Regions from separate parts of the Homo sapiens genome. Here region 2 is linked to region 1. The links are contacts of gene promoters, found by promoter capture Hi-C in blood cells and fetal thymus (Javierre and others, 2016). All regions are on one chromosome and are shown on one strand. The core of a region is centred on a gene start or on the middle of the fragment in contact, and the rest is flanking DNA. Distances in the headings are between cores, read along the strand shown. Region 1 overlaps PTTG1 (PTTG1 regulator of sister chromatid separation, securin). Region 2 holds the start of RNF145 (ring finger protein 145).

The links. Contacts are between HindIII fragments. The CHiCAGO score rates a contact against its expected background, and 5 or more counts as called.
Region 2: a contact is called between the fragment with the promoter of RNF145 here and a fragment that was not itself captured in region 1, in 1 of 17 cell types (total CD8 T cells). The highest score is 6.1, in total CD8 T cells.

What each region holds. Positions count from the first base shown.
Region 1 is chr5:160,428,368-160,435,628 of GRCh38, reverse strand. PTTG1 (PTTG1 regulator of sister chromatid separation, securin) reads right to left here. Exons shown (of 6, transcript NM_004219.4): 6 at 6,890-7,027. The coding sequence ends at 6,948. Among named protein-coding and RNA genes, the nearest start is that of PTTG1, 10 kb to the right of the region's middle. RefSeq lists enhancers at 1,131-1,570, 3,110-3,199. The HindIII fragment of the contact is 153 bases long and covers 5,192-5,344 here.
Region 2 is chr5:159,205,229-159,212,277 of GRCh38, reverse strand. RNF145 (ring finger protein 145) reads left to right here and starts at 2,725. Exons shown (of 11, transcript NM_001199383.2): 1 at 2,725-3,047. LOC107986468 (a long non-coding RNA gene) reads right to left here and starts at 4,251. Exons shown (of 2, transcript XR_001742943.2): 1 at 3,598-4,251; 2 at 2,126-2,419. RefSeq lists enhancers at 2,253-2,352, 3,940-4,059, 4,170-4,219, 4,310-4,359, 3,959-4,614 and silencers at 2,523-2,812, 2,853-3,042. The HindIII fragment of the contact is 10,196 bases long and covers 1-7,049 here.

The sequences.
Region 1 (7,261 bases), core at 4,019-6,518:
GGCCCTCCAAAACTTCTCTATTTAACATTGCAATTCCTCCACCTACCCATTCACCCACAGGACATACCCCCTTCCCACTTTATTTTTTTCCACTACACCTATCACTTTCTAGCATACCATGTAATTGACTATTTTGTAGATAGTCTGTTTCTTCTGGCTACAATGTAAGTTTCATAAGGAGGGCAGAGATTTTTGTCTGTTTTGTTCAGTGCAGTATCCTTGGTACCTAGAAGAGTGCCTGGCTCATAGTGGCCATTCAGTTGATTTTTTTTTCTTTTTGCATGAGGAAAATTGGATTATGCAGATCTGAACAATAAAAAGGATCACTAAATCTCACTTCTACATAAAATTTTAAATCTATCATTTTAGAATTTATCAAGAATCATCTAATTTCACTTTTATTGGGTTTTAAATTAATGTTTATACTTTTGCCATATAACTTTGCTTCTGTAACAGAAACACTTGATACTTGTTATAAATTGTGTCCCTCCCCACCACCTCAAAATTCATATGCTGAAGTCCTCACCCCCAGCACCTCAGAATATGACTGTATTTGGAGATGGGGCCAGTAAAGAGTTAATCAAGTTAAAACAGGGTCATCTGGGTGGGCCCTAATCCAATCTAACTGATGCCCTTAGGAGAAGGGGAGATTAGGACACAGGCAACACAGAGCAAAGACCGTGAGAGGACACAGTGAGAAGCCAGGGACATGACTACAATAGAAAAAGAGAGCCCTCAGAAGGAACCAACCCTGCCACACCTCGGCCATGGACTTCCAGCCTCCAGAATCGTAAGAAAATAAATGTCCATTGTTTCAGCTCCCTCAGTCTATGGTATTCTGTTATGGCAGCCCTAGCACACAAATATAACATCCATGTCAGGATTAGTCTTAAATTACATTAATTTATGGTAATTATACAAGGTCTTCAGGAACACAACCCTCCCATAAAACTCAACAGCCCTGTGTCTGAGTACCCGGTAGGCACCAAGCACCATGTAGTTTTGTGTCTGCTGCTTTCTTAGGTCCCCCTTCTTTCTCTGTCTCTTTTTCAAGGTATGAGTCCATGCCTGCCTTTCCCTCTCTCCCCTGTGGCATCTCACATACCACCCTCTCTGCCTCCAACTACAAGACTGAAATACGATGTGTTGTACGGCTCTAGTCACATGCCCAGTTTTCCAACTAGTAATACAGAACATCATACTCAACTAACTTTTCATCTTTCCAGTAAGATGAAGATGCTTCTTAGTCATGTGACCTGCCCCTGACTTATACCTCTGGGCTAGCGTCCCTACACTGCTGTCCTTTCTGGTGTCCCTCCCTGCAAGACTGCAGGAAGCCAGGAGCCAGCCTGGCTTGGGCTCTGAGCAGCATACCAAAGGCAGGCAGCTCTCACCTCTGCAGCAGGGCTGCAAAGCGGAGGTGAGCGCTGGTGCGTGCCATTGCCATGGAAACCCACTCCCACTCCTCGGGCAGCGGAGGAAGGTGGGGCCTGCGGTCTGTTCCACTATGTGATCTGAAAAGAGAAATGGCTCATCAGTCCCAGGCTCCTCTTGTAGGAAAAAGAGGCCTCTTCAGAAGGGAGTGTAGGCACAAATCCTCCCAGGAGCCTGTGCACACAGAGCCAAAGGGAGCCTCTTTGCACTCATTCTTCCTGCCGTGATTCAGTTCCACAAACTGATCATTCGTCTACTCCAGGCAAGACACTGGACTTGGAGACTGCAAGGATAAACAAGACCCATGTCCAAGTTCACTCTGGCTGGAAAGGAGAGACAGATCTGCTGTTTGATTGTTCCTGTTGCTTGAAAACATGCAGCTAAAGTCCCCAAAAGCCACTGAGTGTAGCATATTCTAAAGTTAGCTCTGGGCTTGCCAAGAGATGCCAGTCCTAGGAGCATCAACCATCAGGAGCAGAAAGAGGCCTGATAGATGAGGTGGCCCGCTTTGGGGATGTCTGCAGAGAAAAGCTGTGTCCGTGGTGGGAGAGGTGTTCCTCTCCTACCTGCAGTCATGAAAAGCTTTAAATGAACACATAAAGATAGGAATCTTCAGGAAGGGGAGAATGGCCTCTCACCCCCAGACACACACCAGCTGAGTTGCAGGAGAAATAGGTAAGCCTATGCTGGTGCCACCAACAGAACCAAGACTGGTGAGAGAGAGGGCTCTTGAGAGAGCATTCTGGGAGTATTTATTGTCCTTTTCAGCCTTCTCACTGCACTGCGGGGAGGAGAGGATCATCGGCATGTAGAGACTCACTGCAACTTAAAGATTGGCACCTGCTCCTGGTCCAGAGATTTCTCACGGTGGGGACCTGCTGGAGTACCCAGGCCTGCAGGGAAACCTTCACCCCATCCTGGTTCTGCAGCCCTCAAAGGGGATGGAAAAGATCCCAGTGGTTAATCATGGAAGGGCAGAGGCCTTGGACAGCCCCTGGACCAAGGAATAGAAGGGCCCACCTGGGAAAGGTGTGGGAAGAGAGGCAGGCTGCCATTCTCAGGAGGGACAGGGTTTTCAGCCGTGGAGAAGAGGGTGATTCTCTACACAAGGACCTCCCCATGAGCAGAGGCCACCAGCATCGTGCAGAGCACAACAGCCAGAACGAAGCCAGCACACTTCCCATAACCAACAAGTGGCCTGTCACACGAGCAGACTCTTTTCTCCCTCCAGCCGTCCTCCCAGGCTTGGGGCTGGACTAAGCCCCTATGAGGGTCATAACACCGGAAGGGGAGAAGGGACATGTGTGGTGAGCAGAGCATACACATGGGCTTTTGCCAAGCCCTCGCCTGTACTAGGGGAGAGGGAGAAGAGCCTGAAATAGGTGTGAACCTCAAGTTTTAAAATAAGCAAAGTTTAATTTTAACCAAAAGTAACTGGAAAGCTATGAAATCTGTCTGAATGCTGCTCAGCATCACCCACCACCCAGAAAGGAGGAAAGGAGAACAGGTCAACAAAACACAGTTGGTGGCAATAAAAAAAGAAAGAAACTCAGTTTATGTTTCCCCAGCAGAGCTGGAGCTTCTCAGTAAACAGGTTATACCTGGGCTTGGTGGGGCACAGACAGACAGGTGACCAGGAACTGTCTAGGGTAGGAGAAGCTGACCTCCTAGACCTGTGCCTGCCCCCACCACTCTCTCTCTGGAAACCTTGAAGTCAGGCTCCCTGGCCCTGATACCGTGTGATGCTAACAGTGGGTACAGTGCAGTCGCTGGGTCTCTAGAAACCTGGATCCCCAGGGACTGATGACATCTTTACTCATTTCAGCAAGTCCCTGAAGCACCTGCCACATGCCAGGCAGAGAATACACCAGTGCACAGGACACACCTCATCCTGCTCCCAGTAGAGCGGAGGAGAGGACCAGACACAGCCGAGCATGGTAAGTGCAAAGGCTTCTGGTAAGAAAAGCATCTCATTGGAGTACTAGAGATGGACAGGTTTGGCCAGGTGAATCAGGACAGGAAATTACACCCCCAAGGAGCCACCACAAGGCCGTGTGAGCCACACTGAGCAACTCAGACTTCATCCTGGTGGCAGAGGGACATCATTCCAAAGTAAATGAAGTGGGGAATGAGTGCTTGATGAGCATGGGTTTATTTTTGGGGGTGATGAAAGTGTTCTGAAATTAGACAGTGGTGATAGTTGCATATACTCTGAACTAAAAGCCACTGAATTGTACATTTTTAAATGAATTTTCTTATGTGAATGTTACCTCAAAAAAAAAAAAAAGGCCGGGCATGGTGGCTCACGCCTGTAATCCAAGCACTTTGGGAGGCCAAGGCCGGCAGATCACGAGGTCAGGAGATCGAGACCATCCTGGCGAACACGGTGAAACCCTGTCTCTACTAAAAATACAAAAAAAAAAAAAATTAGCTGGGCGTGGTGGTGGGCGCCTGTAGTCCCAGCTACTCGGGAGGCTGAGGCAGGAGAATGGCATGAACCCGGGAGGTGGAGTTTGCAGTGAGCCAAGATTGCACCACTGCACTCCAGCCTGGGCGACAGAGCAAGACTCCGTCTCAAAAAAGAAAAAAAATGAAAGGAATATCTAGAAGGAACTTTCAATTCCAATCAAGATGGAGTAACAGGGACCAGATTTACTCTCCTGCCTGAAACTAAAAAACAAGACAAAATATATGAAATGAGGGCTGCCCAAAGAGTGAACATCAGGCGACAGAGAACAGCGATGCCTGAGGAATGTGAAATAAGTGAGGTGAGGCCGATGACTATCCTTACTGGCTACTTTTGAGTTTCCAGGCCTCAGAGTGGGGAAGAAAGGGAGGCAGGCAGAGCCCAGTGAATTTCCTGAGTTGAAGAGACAGAGCAGAGTCAGGCCAAGGCAGGCCAAGTTTGCAGAGCAGAGCACTGGAGAGGAGAGAGCTGCACAGAGAGAACCCTGGAAATTTGCAGAGGGTCTCCCTGTAGTATTCAGAAGAGCACTGATCCATATAGCTGAAAAGATCAGAGGGAAGAATTCCTGAAGCCCACACAGGGCTGGGAATAGTGTCTGCTCCCACCAGCTAGACAGGAAAACCTCATAATTCAGGGGGCAGCAGAGTCCTAAGCATCTCACACTTCAGTAGTAGGGGGAAATGAGCCCTGGGCTAAATGCTGCTCTGGTGATGCCTAACATTAAAGGCAAGTCTCAAATGAATCAAATTGCTTCTAGGTACCTTACCCATACTCTAGAACAAAGTTTAAGAATATTAATAGAAATGTAAAAATACCCAGCATGAAAAAAGGTAAAATCCATGGCTGGCATGGAAAGTAGAAAAATACAACTTGTAATAAGAAAGAAGAAATGGTAGCAAGATAATGGCATTCCTGACTGTTAGCTCCTACTATAAGAAGGTACAGTATCCTGAGAGGCAGGCTCAGAGGTAGTGTAGAGAAATGCAGAAGGTTTACAGAGTTGTAAAGGTATGAATAAAGTCTGTCTTATTTCAAAAAGTGTCAGAACAAAATAGCAACAACCCCCACAAGATGCAAATTATCTGTATTAATGGAGGAGCATCTGCTTAAAGTTCTCAGTCTCAGCACACATTATGCACATTGCAATCTGATTAACAGCAGATGAAAAGATCAGATCCCTCTATACTCAGTTCTGACCCAGAGGACGGCAATTAACTGGTAAGGGACTGACTAGTCCCCTTGCTCCCAGCCCTTGGTTCCCTCTACCACAAAAGACAATTTTCCAAAGCTTCAGTTTGTGTTGCAGAGTATGAAAGCCATTCAGAACTACACTTTGCTTTTTTTGTTGTTTTTGTGAGACAGCATCTCACTCTACCACCCAGGCTACTCTACCACCCACTTTACCACCCAGTGGCATGACTATAGCCACTCAAGTTGTAAGCTTGAACTCCTGGGCTCAAGCAATCCTCCTGCCTCAACCTCCTGAAACTAGGACTACAGGCATGCGCCACCACACCCGGCTAATTATTTTTAATTTTTGAGAGACAAGGGTCTCACTACATGGCCCAGGTTGAACCCAAGCTCCTGGGATCAAGCAGTCCTCCCACCTCAAACTCTCAAGTGCTGGGATTACTGGTGTGAGCCACTGTGTCCAACCTATACTTTGGTTTTCTTAGCAGCCCTATTTTACCTGAGGATGCTAAACCTATTACTCTCCCCTAAAGCCAAGTGCCCTAGTAGTCTTATGGTATTATCTTCTCCTAGAAGTCTGCCTTTCCACTAATTCCAGAAAGTCACACTGATTCAGTTGTATTTAGAAGGTAAAAAGTTTTAAAGTCAGGATAAGCGGTTGTAGGTGTTCTTAGTATTTCATGCCTAATATCCTTCAGCTTCCTCCAATGACAATGGCAAAGTGTTCACATTCTAACTTGACCATAGAAGCTACTGATATATCAAGGGAAAGACTTCTTATATAACTTAGCATCAAGCAAGGGTCAAATTCAGGTTACTACATGGCCCAAGCGAGTAAAGTGAGTTAAGTAGGCTAGGTCTCAGAAGAGACATGAAAGGTAAAAGGATCACTTCAGTTCTCACTGAGGCCATTTAAGGCAGGGTCTGTGGGATAGAAAGCCTATACTCCACCTAAAAGGCAGCAGCCTGCAATCTACCTCCAGCCCCAGCAAGTGTTGGAAACAGGGTCTACTATGGACACATCTCTTTTCAAGAGAATCTCCAAAGCCAGATTGGTGAAACACTGGAATTTTAAATAGTGGAAATGATTAAGGTTTTTAAAATATCCACCCCCTCCCTCAAAAAGAAAACCTATGAGCAACCATTTGCCATCTCTATTTTGATTCCAACCTCAGAACTGAGATCAAAATACCAGCTCTAATAATTTTCTAGCTCTTCACATCTTTGACAAATCAATGAACTTCTGCGCTTCATTGTCTTACCTGGGAAAGTGTCAAACATTAAACATAATAATGCTTCTCAAATACTCATGTCCAACACAAGGTAAACAACTAAATACAGTTTCCTATAGGTGGAGTGTAGACCTTACTATCAGTAAATTATCTCCAGTGATCTTTAAGGAATCTAATTGAAGATCCCAAGGAGGCTGAATTCTCAGATTTAGAGCCTTTCAATACTGAGTATTAAAGTCATTAGAAACTAAGTAGAACCGGCAATAAAGAATGCCCAGCAATAGATACTTAATGAGTTGGAAGTAGCTCTTCTAATTAAGAGATCTAATAACTGTCACTAGTTAATGGCCACAAAAAGTCAATAAAGTACACATTGAGGGGTATACTTTTCAGGAAAAAACAGTGGCAGCTTCTAAAATAAGCTGTTAAACCAAAAAGATTTAAGTTTTTAGACATCAGACAAATCTCTATTGTCACATTATAGACTCTTTGTTAAACACCTCAGCTAGCTTTCATGTTATTTTAAGTAACCTCCATGGAAAAGCAACCACAATACTAGGAAGAATCTGTTAAAGAATGCTTTATTAATACAAATACACACAAACTCTGAAGCACTAAGAAATTTAAATATCTATGTCACAGCAAACAGGTGGCAATTCAACATCCAGGGTCGACAGAATGCTTGAAGGAGACTGCAACAGATCTAGAAAACAGGAATCTCTTATTAAAATTTCTGCAAATCCTTGAGTCATTGTCCATATCAACATAGACATTAGCTGTCAATCAAAAATTCATGTTTTTCCCTTTGTCAAATCAATCACCTGCATCCCCTCCTGACACATTTTTTGGAATGTGTCTGTGGCCCCAGAATTGACTTTCATTAGGAAGTAAGTTTTAGAAGTATCTGAATCTCTATTGTTCTTAGAGACCAAAGTAA
Region 2 (7,049 bases), core at 1,476-3,975, 1.2 Mb after region 1:
TTGCAACACAAGACTATTTCTATGTGACTATTAGCAATAGTTGGCTCTATCAGGAATTCAGGAACGAGTCTTTTGGAATGGCTAGAACTGGAACATATATGCACTCTTTCAAACTTTGTGCTGACTTCCTCCTCAATGTTGGATGCATTTAGACAGGAAGGAAGATAACCTTTCGAATCCTGAATGGTCTGCCATTGGGCAGTCATAAACATACCACTTCTTTCCTTCTAGCACCCTGGGTAAGTTCCTTTTATGACCAAGCTGTGGCATTTAGACATTTCCTTATGTTTCTTCCAGGTACTTAAGGACAAATTTAGCTCCTGGCTTTTCCTGATTTGGGTGGGTTTGGGTGCCTCTAGAAAGTACTTCCTCTACACTTGATTGAGCTCTTTTATTTGAGCTGCTCTCGATTCACCCGCCCCACCCCCACTTCTTTTTTCTTTTGCGTTGCTTTTTAGTTCTGTTTAATTACCTGCTTCTGGCAATGTGGAGCTTTCCCATAACTGGATTAGCAGCACTATAATAGCAGTAACCCTTTCATTACCAGAGTAATTTTCTTTACTTGTTTTGAACTTCAGCATTTACAGGCAGCTGCTATTAAGTTAAAAGGTAAAAAGACATGTGACTTTTTCCTGCTTTTACAAGTCCAGAATACTTCCAGTGAGGGTTACAGGGCTTTGAAGCCATTTTCTCCACTTTAAAAAAAGGAAAGGTAAGAGCTGAAGTAGGCCTCTCCTCCATTTAAAACACAAATCCAGTTAGAGACCAGCCTGACCAACATGAAGAAACCCCATCTCTACTAAAAATACAAAATTAGCCAGGTGTGGTGGTGCATGCCTGTAATCCCAGCTACTTGGGAGGCTGAGGCAGGAGAATTGCTCGAACCCAGGAGGCGGAGGTTGCGATGAGCCAAGATCACGCCACTGCACTCCAGCCTGGGCAACAAGAGTGGACTCCGTCTCAAAAAACAAACAAACAAACAAACAAAAACCACGCAAATCCAGCAACCATACTTCCTTTTAGAATCACATTTTCAGGATTCTGCCATTTATCCAAGAATAATAAATAAATAAAGTTAGAATTTAGTGTTACGTTCATTTTGACTTCTTTGTAATCTGTTTCTGGCCTTAGGTTTTCTTGACTCAGTCAGATGTAAAGTTGTTAAAACAGGGAGGGGATCAAGATAAGGCCTTGCTATCTTGGTCCATTTCCTATTCCAGTCATTATTCATGTGACCTCTGTAATTTTTTTACTTACCAGGCTAGATTAAGAGACTCATGAACTGCATCACTGGGATGTGACAGGATTTATGACTATGGTGAAGTAGTCTGAGGCACCTGGATGAAAGGTGGTTATAGTGAGTTATGTACACAATTCCCACACATTTTAAACACTTGATTCCTACAGAGCTATCAAACTAATGGAAGGCAAGTTACTCAGAGTTTGGTTGACTGATACCTCCAGGGATTGCATTTTCTAAATACAGAGCTTGCTTTCACAATTTCAGCAGGATACAAGAGTGTTCAGAATTGGGGGTTTACCATTCAAAGGGCAGAGGCCAGAGACTTGAATTTACAAGGAGGGTCCTCAACACAGACATCGAGATTACAGTACATTAATTTCTCTTGCACATGAAGAAGTTGAGGCTTCACAATTTCAGCATGACCCAGTATAGTTGCAACATCTTACCCATCACTGGGTGTGTATCTTCTGTGTACACTGGCCCTTTCAACATCTAAGGCCAGGCTAGGTGCTCATAGCAACTGGCTCCCCAGGAACTAACGAAAGAGAAAGCAAGAAACAGTGGAGGGGTTTTGGTGATGGTGGAAGGCAGGGGAGATAGAAGTGGGGGTTGCAGAAGGTCGTGGTGAGGCAGAGTGGCAGACAAATGGGGAATGAGAAGTCTTGCCAAGCCCAGAAGACTATCGTTGTGTAAACACACAATATGCTTCAGGCTATGTATTCTGGGCAACAGTTCCTGCCCTAAAAGGTGTGGACATTTAAATTAGGGTAGGATTGCGCATTCTGTGATAGAGACTGGCACAGAGACAAAGTGGAACTCCTCTACGTTGGGGAGGGGAAAACATACATTAGCCTGTTTTGAACCTTAGACCAAGACAAGACAAACACACAAACACCATTTAATTTCATACTGCAATAAAATTCTTTGTACCAAACCATGGGATCAAAATTGTTACAGATACTCAGTGAACAGTTCCAATGCATTCATTCATCCAGTCACTTACTCCACAGGGGTTTGAGTGCCTGCACTTGGTGCTGGGCACGGCTGAGCCATCCCAGACGCCAAGGAGTTTACAGTCTAGTCCAGTCAGTGACGAGGTTAAAACGAATTCTCGCATCATTGCTACTGCGAATGCACCGGGACAGGATCAGCCCTTCAAATTCTCCCACGTGGTCCCTGCAGGTGAGTGTGGGTGTGAGCGCTTGCGGCCCGTGGTGTTTGGGAGTGAGAGAGCACGTGTGTCAGAATGGCGCCTGTCACAGTGCGCGTCCAGGTGTCTCTGCAGTACGCCTCTCCATAGCCACCCGAGCCGGGCTGTATGGGCTTGGCTAGGCTTATGTCTCCCGCCCACGCACCGGAGGCGGTGCGGAAAGCACTCCGCGGGCGCGATTGTGAGTGAGCGCGGGCGCGCGCGGGAGGGGCGCGCCGCGCTGGCTGGGCCGCGCGCAGGCGCAGAGTGCGGAAGTCGGGCCGCGGCCGCCGCAGAGCGCCGGGGGCGGGAGGAGCAAACGCAGGAGGCCATGGCCGCCGACGCCGGCGCCGGCTGCTAAGGGGCTCGGCCCGCGAGCGCCTGCTGCCGCGGACGATGGTGACCGTACGGGCCGGGCCGCTGCCGCTGCCGCTGCCTCCGCCTCCCCAGAAGCAACATCCGAGGCTCGGCGCAGAAGAGCCGCCGCTGTGAGCCGTGCCGTACCGGCCCCCGCCGCCGCCCGAGGAGAACGGGAGGGCGGGCGAGAGAGCCGGGGAGTTGCGGAGCCCGCCCGCCGGCAGCGCCGCTCCCCAGGGAGGGAGTCCGCAGCCTGAGGTGACCACGCCGCCCGCCCGGCCCCTTCCCATCCCCGCGCCCCCCGGCCGCTTCCCACGGCCTCCCTCCCCTCCCCCATCGCGTCGCAGGCTCCTTCCTCTTCTCCCTGTTCGCCCCTTTCCTTTTATCTCGCTTCACCTCCCTCTTCTCCCTAGCATTGGAGGAGTCCACATCCCCTCTTCAGCCGCAGCACCCCTCCCTCCCATCCTCTAGCTCTTCCCGCGGTGGTCGCCTCCCTCCGACCCTGCTCTCCCCTCCTGGGCCCCGCGCAAAGCCCCCTCTGTTCCAGCTCCCGGGCCTCGGCTGCCTCCCCGCCCTCCCATCCCTTCCTCTTCCCAGGGCCTGGAGCGCTCCCTTACATTCCTGAGATGCCCTTCCTCGGGGCTGTCCCCCTTTGCCTCCCCAGCATCCCATTTCTAGGCCTTTTTCAAGACCCTTCCAGAGCGGCCCCTTTCCAGCTCCCTTTCTCGTTTCCATTTCCAACTTTGCCTCTTTTGCCTCTTTGTTCACTTTGCTTCCAAGCTCCCCTCCCTCTTTCCCTTCGTCTTACCCTGCTTTGATCTACGCAGCCCCAAACTCAAGCTCCCCGCTTTCAGGTGGTGCGAGGTTGTTTGGGGGTGCGGAAGGGCCTGCCAGTCCATTTTTCGAGGGGGGCCCATTGCTCTGCATCCCGTCCGTCAGTCCCTTTTATAGTAAGAGGGCTCCTCATCCCTTCCTTTTTGTCCCCGTGGTTTCCTCTGTCTTGCCATCCCTTCTGTCTTCTCCCTCCAATACTGCTTTCCCCACCCAAGGACCCTCAGACCCGTGAACCCCCTTTCTGGAATGAGTTCCCTTTCTGTTCGGGGATGCTGAACTTCGCCCGCGTTTTTCTTCGCGAGCCTTTTGGTACGTGGCGTGGCGCGACAGAGTCAGCACCCTTGGCGAGATAGGAGGGGAGCTCTCGAGCCTCTTTCCTGGAAGAGTTTTTGCTGAACGTAATCTCTTAGCCCCGCGGCGGCGGCGGCCCGGTTGCTGCTGCTACTGCTGCTGCGCTGCCTGCTTGCCGCGAGCTGGGTTGGGGTTACTGTAGTTCAAACGCATCTGAGATCTGCAGGCGTTGTGGGAGGAGGTGCGGGGAGAGAGGAAGGGGCCTGTGCAGTGAGCAGGCATCAAAGATTAGTGGATGGCCTTGCGTCGCAGTCTGCAGTAAAGAGGAAACTAGTCTGAAAGGGAAGGAGAGGACTGTGTGTCTTTTTATTTTTTAAAATACGGAGTGTGCAGTTTTACTGAATCTTGAATCATGCCCAAAAGAATGAGCTGTCGGTGCTGCAGTCGTGACCCAGGCTGAGCGGCCGATGGCAGAGGTAGCAGTTTTATTTCCTCTCTCTGTTCCTTAAGTTGAAAGATGGCCTTTGTATTCAGAGTAGACTCCCTGTCTTTGCGGTTTGGGAGATGATGAGAAACCACAGAATTGCTAGTAGTTTATGTGGAGATCAGGTACATACAAAGTTAGCTAGCAAGGAGTGGGAGTGGGGAGGACCAGCTATATTTAAAACATGTGCCATTGCTTATGTAAGAAATGCGTTCTCTTTCCTGGTATCTCAGTTCTGGGCTTTTACTTAGAATTTTAGGCTCTAGCTTTGTGCTCTTAACATTTTCAGTGAGGCCTACCATCCTAACCGATGGACAGCCCGAAAATTTACTTTTCTTAAGATCAGTTTTAGTTGATGGTAGAATTTTTTTTTTTAACTGGTTGGGAGAAAGAAAGGAGATAATGGTGAATGATGATTTTTGTTTTTCTTTTTTAGGGGGAAGGTGTAGAAGTATTGTACTGAATAGTTTTAAGTTGGGTCACGTGTCATTCTTGTTTTTTCTTTGTCTTTTTAAAAAAAAGTTTAGGAGGTGTATTTTTGAAGAACTCAAATAAGAGAAATAAAAAATCACATTTTTCATTTCTCTTATTTGACATAGTTCTTCAGAGATTAGCTGTGACTGTAAAAACCTACATTTTTCTTATTCAGGACGATTTGTTTGGTTTCTTCATATTCAAAACTAAAATCCCGTATTTTCAGGAAAGTGTAGAATGAAGCCCCCTGTGTTTTCTAACCCACAAATTTGAATGGTAAACTGTACAGCATTATACTTCTACAAGACATTACTGTTTTCATAATTACGGATTGCTGCTTCTAAGCCTGAGAAGGTCATTTAATGAACTCATTGAGGTCTCCTTTTTGGTTAGCATTTGTTGCACCTCTTGTGGTTTTTGGAAAGAAATGCCTTTTTTTTTTTTGGTTTGTTTTTAGCTGTTTTACTGTGTAAAACATCTTTGAGTCACATTTAGTTTATGTTACCTGCAGACACATCATGTTGGATATTACTTTCCCAGTTCTTTTCAAAGTTCAAGGAGGACATTTTAAAATCTTGCATGGAAGATAAAACAGTATAGGAAGTTTATGTATTTGGCTTTGGGTGTGTTAAACCTTTCGGTTTTTTCTGCTTTCAGCTCTCCTGCTTATTTTCTAGGATTATTTGGTATTATTTTGTTTTCAAGAGAATATTGAGCTCCCCTGTACTTTAGGATATGCTGATTAGCCCTGTTTGACAATAAATCTGGAACAGGATAAATTAGGCAACATTATAAAGGTATTCTCTAGATCAGGAGAGAAGGCTCCATTTTACTTCGTGTTTGTATGATATAGTGATTTGGCAGGTGTGAGTAATTGCAAGTACTTGCAAAGAAGATGAATATTTTAAAGTTTTGTTTTGATGTTGGTTTAGTGTGTGGTGCTAAAGTGTAGTGTAAAGTACCTATTTGTATTGATAACTATCATGTGCTCTTTTACTTTAGAAGGGTTCAAAGTGATAAGGTTTTGAAATTTTTTTCTCTTTGATTTTCCATGTATTAAATTTGTTTCGTCAGTGCCTTTATACATGACCAGCTTGCCACTGACTTGCTAAAATAACATTCACGTATAGAAATAAATGCAACATTTAGTTTCGTTTATTTGGGCGTATTTAATTCTATCCAAAGTCCTTGTTAAAAACATTTCAGTCTCGAGTTGACTATGTAGTAGAGGGGGATCTTGGATATTGTTTTTTATTGACAGCTTTCGGGACCCGGTATTTTCTCTTTATAGAAATAGAAATGTGTCCTGTTTTCTGTTTCTTATTATATTTGTTAGGCAGGAGTGGTGGGTGGAAATAAAGAGGGAACATGTACCATTCTGCTAATGGACTTTTGTAATAGAGATGATCCTCTGTACGGATTAGGGAGTTTTTCTTCCCTAGCAGATCTTGATTTCTAAAGCAGGATTAGTTATTTGTTTAGTTTAAATTTTCTTCTTTACCCGTTTAGGAGCCACAGTAAATGGTGAAAATGGGCACATTTTAAAATAGCAAAGCATTGAAAAAAGAGAAAGGTTCCAAATCAAATGAAATAAATATGGGCTACAAGTGTTAAATCAGTAATAGCTCCTCCCTCTCTTGTTACTTATAAAAACAGAGTAATGATTTATATTGGATTCCAGAATATAGAAAAATAGTTACTTTTCGATGGCAGTATAAAGACTGTCAGTAATACTGTCATCTCAGTACGTGGTGATTTTCAAATATGGTGGCTGGTGGTTTGTGAGAAGATCTATTCAATATTACTTTGAAATAAATTCCCAAGAGGGTATTGGGTTATCAGTTTGCTCACCAAAGTAAGTCTTTCCACTGTAATTCCTGAAGTTATCTAGATGGCTTATACACATTAAAATGCATTAAACTCTTTACCAACAATTTCTGTGAATGTTTTGGTGTATTTTTTCCTGGGATTAGAAAAAATAATAATATCATGGGCTTTGAGAAATTTAGATTCCTCAGTGGTTGGTTTGCAATAAATATTAAAGGTTAGAGATTTTATTTTTCAGTGCATTTTTCCTTCTTAGGACATGATATTTAGTTCTGATTTTCACAATAATATTTTTTCTTATGTAGGAAAATTATGAAAATGATCTTGTTCATGTGAAATAATCAGAATTG